Regions from separate parts of the Homo sapiens genome. Here region 1 is linked to region 2. The links are contacts of gene promoters, found by promoter capture Hi-C in blood cells and fetal thymus (Javierre and others, 2016). All regions are on one chromosome and are shown on one strand. The core of a region is centred on a gene start or on the middle of the fragment in contact, and the rest is flanking DNA. Distances in the headings are between cores, read along the strand shown.

Region 1 (6,278 bases), core at 2,700-5,199, 1.1 Mb after region 2:
TTGGCACAGTCAGGTTGACACAAAAAATTATCAATGACAGCTTCTAATCAAGAAGAAGTTAACAGGAACACCAAGCATCCAATAAAAAATTATCAGACATGTAAACAAGGAGAAAAAGCCTACCATAATGAGAAAAAAATCAATCAATTGAAAACAACATAGAATTACCCAGATGTTAAACAAAGAAAAAAATCATTATAACCGTACTTAGTATGCTTAAAAAGTTGAGAACAAAAAAATAAACATATTGAAATTGAACAGCCAGAGATTAAAACTACAAAGCCAGAGATAAAAATACACTGGATAGGAGTAAAGACAGATTAAACATTGCAGAAGAAAAGGTTAGTAATTACAAAGACATAGCAATAGAGAATATCCCAAATGAAACACACACAGAGAAAAGCTTTTTAAAAAACTAAATAGATAATCTCTCAGCTGTGGGCAACTTCATATGGCCTAATATACATGTAATTATAGTCTCAGAAGGAGAGAGAGATGGAAAAAATATTTGAAGAAATAATGGCTGAAAATTATCCAAATTTGATGGAAACCGTAAACTCACAATTTCAAGAAGCTCAATAAAGCTAAAATGTATACGCGCGTGCACACACACACACATGAAAATAACCACACCTAGGAACATTATAATCTACTTGCTCAAAATAAGTGATAAAGAAAGAAACCTTAGAAGCACACAAAGAAAAAGGATGAATTACAAACTGAAAATCAAAGGTCAGAATGACAGCAAATTTTCTGTAAGGAAAAATGACGTGTAGCTGAAGTCTTAATAATGAGCAGTGGATTTATTTTGCCTTAAGTCAGATTGTTCAGATTGTTTTTGCCATATTTCTGTGAAACACGCTTTTTAATTCAAAGAGAGATATGCAGTTTCATTTCTTTCCAAAACTTCCACTAGAGACCTTTGTCCTGCTTGTCACAGAGCCAGTTACTGCTCTTGCAATCTACTGCACCTAATGCCCACAAAATATGCCCTTTGTACTTAGATCTCCATGTGCGCAGAATGTTAAAGGCCAATTTTACTTTGTGACAAATTGCAGTGTCTTAAGACCAACATTAGTTACTCAGATTCTGATTTTTATTCTCTATATTTCTCCAGAACAACTGTCAATCTATTATATATTTGTACAATCTGGTATTAAAATGCTTTCCCCAAAAGATATTCTGCGAAAAGATCTGAAGTTGGTCCATGGTTATCCCATGACCTGTGCTTTTGCAAGCAACTGGGAAAAAATTGAACAGTTCCATAGCAGACCAGATGACATTGTGATAGCCACTTATCCTAAATCAGGTGAGTTCTGTGGCCTGACAAATTCAAGTCCGACCTCATTTTTTGTTTCCTGGAAATCAACTTGTCCATAAAATCATTACCATTCTAAATAAAGTTAATATTCATTTTGTGCAGCCATCTATTTTAGTATATTAAAATTGGCATTTGGTGCATAGAAAGGGGAATTAAGTTTGTAATAGAATGTGTTAAGATGGTAGTGTTTCCAATAAATTCTTCTCCCTCTCCCGTGCAATTTGGGTAATTATTTTGAAAATGTTGCCTTTTGTCACAGGTACTACTTGGGTTAGTGAAATTATAGACATGATTCTAAATGATGGAGATATTGAAAAATGTAAGCGAGGTTTTATTACTGAAAAAGTTCCAATGTTGGAAATGACTCTCCCTGGATTAAGAACATCAGGTAAATTTAACCCACTTGGAATTATTATTTTGTAATATTATTTAGACAGCATATGCATTATTGTATGTGTGACTTTCACTGAAACCGGAGTAGATTTGGTGACATAAAATGGAAGGTGGCAAACAATATAAAACTGAAGAATAAGAAGAAACTTTATTTTTATCTGTTGTACATCCAGGTATGATATCAAAGATGAAAGAGTCTTACTGTACAAAACAATTAAAAATTTGATTGATAAAATAAACAATATTTTTAAGACTTTTATTTGGTAGAATTTGTCTGATTAGATTAGTAAGTTCCTAATTTAGGACTTTGTTGTAATTAATAAATAAGAAGCAACTTTTCTTAAAACATAAAATTCACTAATACTATTAATTTTTCTTCCACAAAATATTTATGGAATGCTTGTAAAGAATTATTCACTGTGCTATGGTATAGATATATAAGATTAGAAATTGTATATTGTATCACAGGGAGCTTACAGCAATATTGTGACGTCAAAAAGTAAATAACAATATGTCAATGTTCATAGTCTTACATAGTCAAATAATAGGGTTCTGTGGAAGCGAACAATAGGAAAGCTTACTTTAAGTGGGTAATAAAGGAAAAAAACTTAGACAAATTAAATGAGTTTAATTGAGCAAAGGACAATTCACAAATCAGGCAGCCTCTTGAGCCAAAATAGCCTCAGAGATTCCAGAATAGCTACATGGTTTATGGAAGGAAGGAATGTGACATACAGAGAACAGACTTGAGATATAGAAACAGCTGGTTTAGTTAAAGTTTAGTGTCTGACTTATTTGAACACAGTCTGAAGAGCTGGCCACCTTTGATTGGCCAAAACTTGGTGATTCGCACAAGGGTAGAATGTAATATGTTTACACATCCAGTTAGGTTACAATTCACTATGTATAGAGAAACCTTTAAGCCAAACTTAAAATGTGTAAGATGACAGCTTTAGTCTAAACTTAATTTAACAAGGGGTATCTACTCCAAATTGAGATTAAAAAGTTGTACATACTTGGGGAAAGAATATCCCAGGATACAGTCCTGGAAAGCATATTCCAGGAAGATCTTGATATAGTCCGGAGACTAAAATGATCCATGAAAGAAGGAAAAAGTGGGATGCAAAACAATTGGAAATTAGGCTAGGATAGACCATGTAGGACTTGTAATTCTTAAAACATTTTCTCATTTTATTCCAAGAACATTGAGGAAGATATTGAAGGGTTTTATGCAAAGAAAAATTATATAGAGTTTTTGTTTTTTGTTGTTGTTTTAAATACAAAGACTCCACAGGTTGCTTGGTAGAGGTGGAATTGAGGATGCTAGATAAGACATATTTGTGACTTGTTGATGGACTGTAAAAGAAATATGAAGAAAATGAAAGAAAAATGACAGTTTTATTTTTCATCAAGCAAGTGGACTATGGAACCATTCGCTTGCAAGGAAAAGTACTTGGAGAGGAACACATTTGGGTGTAGGGTTATTAATAATTCAATTGTGAAATGTTAGCTTTGTGACATTGGAGAAAATTATAATGAATTAAAATGATGGTATTTGGAGCTTGTAAAAATATATTCATTAGGCAATGCTCAGCATAATTGGACATTGGAATCAATGTGACTGCCCAAGGAAAGCCTGTGGAGCTATATGAGAAGAGAAGCAATGAGCTGTGAAAAACATCAACATGCAGAAGTTAGGTGAGAAAGAGAAGCTAGCAAAGGAAACTGAAAAAAAATGAGCTAACAGGGAATGCAAGAGTATGGTGTTCTGTAAGTAAATGAGAGGGGTATTCAAGAAGTGAAGCTTGACTTTCAAATGCTGCTGGAATCCTGGGAAACAAATAAGTAGTAGGATAGTGATAGACCTGTATGCCAATGTGAAGAGAAATATCCAAATCCTCTTCTATAATGGAGGTGCCCCTCAGCAGGCTGACTGAACTAGTTACTTCCGTAGGCAGAGACGGATCAACTGGCAAGATGTCAGTCCTTCTATGTCATTGCCAGAATTCAGACAGCAAATGCCAATTTTTGTTTTGTTTTGTTTAAAAAATATATTCAATTTTTCAAAGTTACAAATATAAAATCCCAGTTGTTTCCTAAGCCATTAAGTTCAGCTTATAAATATTATTATTTTACTTATATAACAAAAGGAGTTTAATATTCAATCCAAGTTTTATTTAATTAAGCTCCTTTAAACACTTAAGTGGCATTTATATATTAATATATTTCATTTCCTTGAGTACTTAATTTATCTGACCAAGACAAACCTTCCCAAGTACTTATAGTCCAATAAATTAAGCTCATAAATACAGCAAATCTTAGCCATTTTAAATGTTCCAAAACTACATAGAAACTTAGCAATGATTCCACCACTGTACTCCAGCCTGGGCGAAAGAGCAAGACTCTGTCTCTAAACAAATTTAAAAAAGAAAATTAGACACTTAGCAAGATTTCAACTTAAAATTCAAGTATAAATACTCAACATTTTTTACTTAGCATTACAAAGCAAATCTGTTACTCTCACAAAGTTGTTAATCTTACATTTGTCAAGGACTTAAAATGCAAACTGCAAAGTTTCTTAAAACAAATGGTTATGATAAGATGTTCTTAAACATGACTATGTTATGTCTTGATGTTCTTAAACATGCCTATCCTTGGAAAGCTTGGAACTGAGGGATTATGCTGGGGCAAGGAACCAAAATGAGTTCAAGAGGGAGGCAAGACTTCAGAACCATAGAAAGTATGAAATGAAAAAGTGACAGAACCAAAGTAATCAGAGACATGGGAGTCAGGGATAACAGATGGAAGGCAGGATTGGGGATAGAGAGGGAGGATATGCAGCATTGCCTGACAGTGAATGGCTGAAGTTCATCAGGTAGATGAGGGTAAACTGCAGCATTTAAATCTACTCTAGGCCGGGCGCGGTGGCTCACGCCTGTAATCCCAGCACTTTGGGAGGTCGAGGCGGGTGGATCACGAGGTCAGGAGATCGAGACAGTCCTGGCTAACACGGTGAAACCCCGTCTCTACTAAAATATACAAAAAATTAGCCGGGCGTGGTGGCGGGCGCCGGTAGTCTCAACTACTCGGGAGGCTGAGGCAGGAGAATGGCGTGAACCCGGGAGGCAGAGCTTGCAGTGAACTGAGATCGCGCCACTGCACTCCAGCCTGGGCGACAGAGTGAGACTCCGTCTCAAATAAACAAACAAACAAACTCCAGAGCCTGAATGTGGATAATTTTGTTGTCTTTATACATTGCTAACACTCATACTTGTGGATATAAAGGGTTCATTAAAAGACTCACTTGGCAAAATGATTGCAAAATAGGGGAAATTGAGAAATCTTTCAGGGAAGCTGAATGCGGAACAAGGAACAACAGATGTGAGAAAAACTTCTTAAAAGAAACAGACATAAGTTCATCTAATGGACATTAAGTAATAACGAGTTGTGGAGGATTACAATTTCTCATTTTTATATGCTGGGTAAAGTGACTGTAGCTGCTAGATCAGTAGAGGCATAGTAAAATCCCTGATGGAGTTGTATAGTAATTTATGTTTACAGTCATTTATATTGGCAAATAAAATACAGGACAATTAATTAATTTCAAATTCAGATAAATAACCATTTTATTAAGTATGTAAGTACTTTCCAAATGTTGTAAGGGAAATATTCTTGCTAAAAACAACCTATTTATCTGATAATTCAAATTTAACTTGGATTTTCACATTTTTTAATTTCCTGTATGCCAAACCTGTGTCTACTGACATTAAATAGGCTTCTTCATATTAACCATGTGCTAGTCACGGTTCTCGATGGACATTTATTTATGAACAAAACAAGTTACATCTCTGTTCTTATGAAATCTCCATTTTAGTCTAAGTTTAGGAGTGAGGTTGGGGAAGGGACATGGGGACATACAGTAAGCAAACAAATAAGTAAATAAACTATGAAGTCAAAATGTGTTTCATAGAACATTAAGAGAAAAATGTAATAGGCTGAATGACTTCTTAGCATATGCAGTGAATTACTGTGAACATTTAAAACAAAGCATTGTTTTCAATGAGTGAGTCAGATGCAATTTTGTGTGGGTTTGCCTTTCTATTCAGAGATGGCAAGATTATGTAAGATTATCAGGTATTCTAGAGTTTAGACTGTATATAAGTAATACTGTGGAACATAAAAGAATGCATAAGAAGTTTATGTATCATCTATCTTAAGACCTTAATTTGAAATCAAGTTCTACCACATATTTGTTGTATGACTTTAGAGAGTTAAGCTAATATCTAAAGATTACACATTTTTACTGTCTATACATATATGGAGAGACATATGACACATATAGGATATAATGAAAATATAGATAAAACAGCTGATATTATATACAAAGTTAACATCATCTATGCTACAGTACCTAATACAACACGATAGCCAGTTTTAGACTTACTAGTTATTGATACCTCTTTGGCATGAAGAAAACATTTAAATAGTCATTTATAGCAATGCACAGGTATAATAAAACTCCAAATTATTAAAGAGGGTATTATTATCTCTCCTTTTGGAGATG
Region 2 (5,729 bases), core at 1,970-4,469:
CTTTCCTTCTCTGCTCATCTGTTGGTACAGAAATAGTATTCAGATAGCCAGGTGTAATGGCTCACACCTGTAACCTCAGCATCTTGGAAGGCAAAGATGAGTGGATTGTTTGAGCCCAGGAGACCAGCCTGGGCAACATGGCAAAACCCTGACTCTACCGAAAAAAAAAAAATTAGCTAGGCATAGTGGAGCATACCTGTAGTACCAGCTACTTGTAGCGGGGAGGGGGTTTGAGATGAAAGGATCACCTGAGCCTGGGAAGTCAAAGCTACAGTTAGCTGTGGTCATGCCACTGCACTCCATCCTGGTCGACAGAGTGAGATCCTGTCTCCAAAAAAAAAAAAAGAAACAGTATTCAGACAGTTATACCAAATAACAAATAGAAGAAATAACCAAAGCTTTGTTCTTTCACTTCCAATAATAATCATTTCCATGTGGTGTTCACTTTGGATTTTTAATTGACGGTAGACAAAGACCAAAACTGAAAATGTTGAATTAACTTTTCTGATTGTCAAGCACATGGGCTAAATATGTTGAGAATATATCAACTGCTAGATAGATATAACCTAACTGAAAAATTGTGCCCCAAATAGTGCAAATGCTCTAAAGTTCTATATACATTAGTTACAGCAAGATTTCTTTTGTAGTTACTAACCTTCAGGAGAAACAAACTAATCCACCACAAATCTGAATCTATTAAATACTGAGCCATGTAAAAATAGGATTCTACTGTATTTGTATTCAAAAAATAGCATCAGAAACTTCTCCATCCCCTAGTTTCAGCCAAATATGGCTCTTCCCTGCTTTAACCTTTTTTTTTTTTTTTTTTGAGACAGAGTCTCACTCTGCCACCCAGGCTGGAGTGCAGTGGCGCGATCTCGTCTCACTTCAACCTCTACCTCCCGGGTTCAAGTGATACTCCCGTCTCAGCCTCCCAAGTAGCTGGGACTACAGGTGCGTGCCACCTTGCCCAGCTAATTTTTGTATTTTTAGTAGAGACGGGGTTTCACCATATTGGCCAGGCTGATCTCGAACTCCTGACCTGGTGATCTGCCTGTCTTGGCCTCCCAAAGTGCTGGGATTACAGGCATGAGCCACCGCGACTGGCCTTGCTTTAACCAATTTAGCTTACTAGACACAAGCCCATCAGCAGTAGTCATGGATATCATCTACAGTGCTATTTTGAATACAGCTTCTAAATTCTTGAAAACAATCAAACATTAGCAATGTAAAATTAAGCTCAAGATGAGAAGCTTCAAGTTGAGATACCTGAATATGGTGATTAGAACTAAAACAAGAAACTGCCCAGGCACGGTGGGCTCACGTCTGTAATCCCAGCACTTTGGGAGATCAAGGCAGGCAGATCACTTGAAATCAGGAGTTCGAGACCAGCCTGGCCAACATGGTGAAACCCCCATCTCTATTAAAAATACAAAAATTAGCCAGGCGTGGTGGCGCGGGCCTGTAGTCCCAGCTACTCAGGAGGCTGAGGCAGGAGAATCGCTTGAACCCGGGAGGCAGAGGTTGCAGTGAGCCGAGATCACGCCACTACACACTCCAGCCTGGTGACAGAGCGGAGACTCCGTCTCAAAAAAAAAAAAAAAAAAAAAAAAGAACTAAAATAAGAAACAAGGACTTTTTTATAAAATCACCCAGTCCTGTCATCTAGCCCTATGCCAATCCGACAAACTCAGAATCAACTTCTAGGAGGAGCCTAAGAAATCCCTTTCCGTTTAAAGGTTTTAGGCAAGTTGACACAAGCCAGGTCCCCTATGCATATTGGAAATATCAAGTCTGCCCCTAGGTCAGCCTTGTTCAGTTTTGCTTAAACACCCTAAAAAAAAAAATTCTAGATGTGAGCATGTGAAAATAAGAGTGAATTAAATTCTCAGTATTCAGACGTCAATGTAATGACTAAAAATTATTAGGCAAGGAAAGAAGAGAAATCTTAAGAAAATATCCTTTAAATGCTAATTTCTCCACAACAGTAAAACAGTATATGGGTGAGTTTCAACTTCTAAGTTTTTTATTAGTTTTCTAAACACAGACTAAACATGGAATGAGTGCATCACAACGAAGCCTTCAAAGGAGTTATTCCTCAGGCTGTAACCCCTGTTTTCAGAGGACCTGAGGCTTATCTACTGCCTCCATATCCACATCTGGCCATCCCATCCTTCTGCCCTTCCCCCTCCACGTTCCCCTCCACTCGTCTGGAACAAACGATAAGTAAGTGAAATAATGACCAGCACTAAACATGACGCCAAAGTTGGCATTTACAAATGATTTTCAAAACAACTCCCCAGTGGACCTAATCAACCTAGGCAGGGCACACTATCCAAAACCTATTTGCTGGTTGTCTAAAAAGATAAAACTCATCCTCTTCAGGGAAGTCCTCTGGGAGGAAGGGCGCCTCTAGGAAGCAAGGGGGCGGCTCCAGACCCCTTTCTCAGGGACCCCCGTCTGTGTCCAAGGGATCCCGACCCGCAAGTAGCCTTGTTTCAGTGTTACATCTACAGAACTTGTCATCCCAACTTCCCAGCCCTAAGACGAGAGAGGAAGTTAAAAGGGTCCTGGGATGACAGGGGAAAGTACGACAGTCTTATCTTCTGTGCTTGGGACCCAGAAAAGAGCAATGGGCAGCCGCGACGGAGCCATTCAACCGAGCACCGCTTGGATACGGATTGTGCAGGCGAGTGGGAGATACCCACGAGAAGCGCACAAACAAGCCCGGGAATGCGAGCGAAGGCAGAGACGGGGGTGATGAAGGAATCCAGGCGCTGGCCCCGGGGTGTGCCGGGGGGGAAGAACCTCCTCAGGGCTGCAGGAGCCCACGAGTACTCGAAGCCCTATGGGGAGGCGGCGGTTAGGTAGTCCGAGCGCTCCGCGCAGTCCCGGGGCCCCGCTTGGTGGTGACGCCGGGCCCCGGGAGCGCTGGGCCAGGAGGGTCGGGACGAGGGCGGGCGACGGGCGGCGGGCGGCGGGCGGGGGCCCAGGTCCACCCGAACAAAGCCGGCGCGTGCGGGGCCTGGCTACTCACAACAAGAAGCTCATGTTGGCCGCGGGGCAGGCTGCAGGCTCGGCGGTCGCGAGGCCTCGGAGCGGCGTGGGCCAGGAAAGAAGAGGAAAGGCGAATGGAACAGGAGACAGGGAGGCGGAGGAGGAGGTGCCGAGAGCCGGCTGCTCGGTGGCCGCAACTAGTTCGGCTCAGCTAGTTCCAATGGCAGGGGGAGGGGGCGGAAGTGGGTAGCGCTCGTCTTGAATCACTCCAGGGGAGGGGAAGGAAAGGGAGGCGGGGCAGGCTCTCCGCGAGCCCCTCCCCAGCTCCCCGCCGCCCCCACCTCACGAGCTCTCGCGATAGCGGTGCAAGCCCACCCCGGCCCTCCGGCTGCGGCATGGGGACTCTCACCTTCTGGTCTCCTCTGCTGCTAGGGACGACGCCCAGCGTGTGCGCCGCGGCTGCCCGGCCCCCCTGTCCACCCGGTTAGGAGTCATGGCAGAGCTCTCGGAGCCGCTCAGCTGGGCTCCAGAGGTCAGGGAGGAAGTGGGCTTCAGCTCGGGGATGTCAAGGTCCCGCAGTGAGGGATGGAATTACCACCGGAGTTAGGCCCACCGTGAGTGTCCGGCCAAGGGCGGTGAAAGGTAATGGCATCTCTCAGTTCACCACGGAACCCAGCATGATAGGGTGGTCATCGGTGTAACCACTTAGGGGGCCAAAGCTTGTAAGCATTCTAATGCACAGAACATCCTAGAAGCTAGAAGCTATTCAGACCCACTTACAAAGGGACTTTTATTCTCACAGGGTTATGGGGCCCAGGGCAAGCCTTTATATTCTGTTTAAGAATCCTTCACATACCTTGAATATGTCACCACAGCATTACCAATTTAGGAGGGAAATACGGGTATCGAAGAGATGTCCGTCTTCTTTACTCACAACACCCATCAAATCTACAAGTTTTCAAAGAGAATCTGAGCAAAACAAATCATGTGCAGATATTAGCTCACCTTTGGCTTATCCCAAAGGGCAGAATACACTTTGAAGTAGGTGCAGATATGAAATGTATTATACTGCATATATGCACTATTATTTGGCACGTTGGTAAAGTGGTAAAAAAAAAAAAAAAAAAAAAAAAAAAAAAAAAAAAAAACGTTTTAGGCCGGGCGCAGTGGCTCATGCCTGTAATCCCAGCACTCTGGGAGGCCGAGGTGGGTGGATCACCTGAGGTCAGGAGTTCAAGACCAGCCAAAGTTCAAGACCATGGCCAAACCCCGTCTCTACTAAAAATACAAAAATTAGCCGGGCATGGTGGCACACACTTGTAATCCCAGCTACTCGGGAGGCTGAGGCAGGAGAATTGCTCCAACCCAGGAAGCAGAGGTTGCAGTGAGCCAAGATCATGCCACTACACTCCAGCCTGGGTGACAGAGTTAGACTCCGTCTCAAAAAAAAAATTTTTTAATAGAAGAAAATACTAGAATCTTGCACTATCTCAGGAACAGCAGAGGTTACTGGAATGAGAAAACTTACAGACTCAAAAGATTACCAGATCAGGATAAATAGCTAATGCATGCAGAGCTTAATACCTAGGTGATAAGTTGATAGGTTCAGCACACCACCATGGCACACACGTTTACCTATGTAACAAACCTGCACGTCCTGCACATGTATCCTGGAACTTCAAATTAAATTAAAAATTTTTTAAAAGATTCCCCAAAAAGAAGAAAGAGGAGGATTTATCTGAATGAAAATAATAGATTTATGGTATAAAACCCTGTGCTCCAAATATTGATATGGTACTGACTTACTGTATAATTCTTTTTTTTTTTTTTTTTTTTGAGACGGAGTCTCACTCTGTCACCCAGGCTGGAGTCCAGTGGTGCAACTTCTGGACTAGGCTCACTGCAACTTCTGCCTCCTGGGTTCAAACAATTCTGCCTCAGCCTCCTAAGTAGCTGGGATTACAGGCCTGTGCCACCACACCTGGCTAATTTTTGAATTTTTAGTAGAGACGGGGTTTTACTATGTTGGCCAGGCTGGTCTCAAACTCCTGACCTCGTGATCTGCCTGCCTTGGCCTCCCAATATGCTGGAATTACAGGCGTGAGCCACCACGCCCAGCCCTGTATGATTCTTGTAAGGGTCTTCTGAAAGTAAGACTTGCATTACCAGATTACTGATTATCTTTGGAAAGAGTGAGTTGACCTGTCATAGCCTCAGTTTTAGCCCATTTAAAATGGGAGCCTTCTATCATTACATGATCTCTAAAATATCTTCCAGTTCTAAAGTTCTCTCCTGCCAGGGGCATCCTTCAAATGACTGGCACACATTTCCAAACTGCTCCCTGATTTGGCTTAGGTAGCCTTAGTTTTGGTCTGACATAATTTAGATGTATCCTGTGACACTGAATAAGGGAAAACTGGCAGAGGAAAGAATCTGCAAAAATACCTTCTGAGTATTTCTTTATCATACCACTAGGAGAGTTGCCTGGAATTAACATCCAATAAAACGTAAATATACTGGTCCTAAATGTGAGGGAGGTGTCAGGTTAATAATATACAATATGATTCCAGGTTAGACTTTAAATCAAATGATGTCTGTCATATAAAATTATTCAGCATATCAAAAACATTGGGAATTTCAGAATCAAAGAGAGTTTATATTCAAATAGATATTTATAATTATCATCTCTTCTGACCAAAATCTAATAACCTTTTGTTTATGAAGCAAGATTA

What was found. The method cuts DNA at HindIII sites, captures the fragments that hold promoters and counts their contacts. A CHiCAGO score of 5 or more calls a contact.
Region 1: a fragment that was not itself captured here is called in contact with the fragment with the promoter of MOB1B in region 2 in 1 of 17 cell types (M0 macrophages); the score reaches 7.1 in M0 macrophages.

The regions. Positions count from the first base shown.
Region 1 is chr4:69,750,101-69,756,378 of GRCh38, reverse strand. It overlaps SULT1B1 (sulfotransferase family 1B member 1), which reads left to right. Exons shown (of 8, transcript NM_014465.4): 2 at 1,118-1,309; 3 at 1,581-1,709. The coding sequence starts at 1,162. Among named protein-coding and RNA genes, the nearest start is that of SULT1B1, 7.4 kb to the left of the region's middle. The HindIII fragment of the contact is 858 bases long and covers 3,521-4,378 here.
Region 2 is chr4:70,899,859-70,905,587 of GRCh38, reverse strand. It overlaps MOB1B (MOB kinase activator 1B), which reads right to left and starts at 3,219. Exons shown (of 6, transcript NM_173468.4): 1 at 3,038-3,219. The coding sequence starts at 3,051. It overlaps LOC124900711 (a long non-coding RNA gene), which reads left to right and starts at 3,357. Exons shown (of 2, transcript XR_007058132.1): 1 at 3,357-3,639. RefSeq lists silencers at 2,890-2,939, 3,250-3,399. The HindIII fragment of the contact is 2,463 bases long and covers 1,256-3,718 here.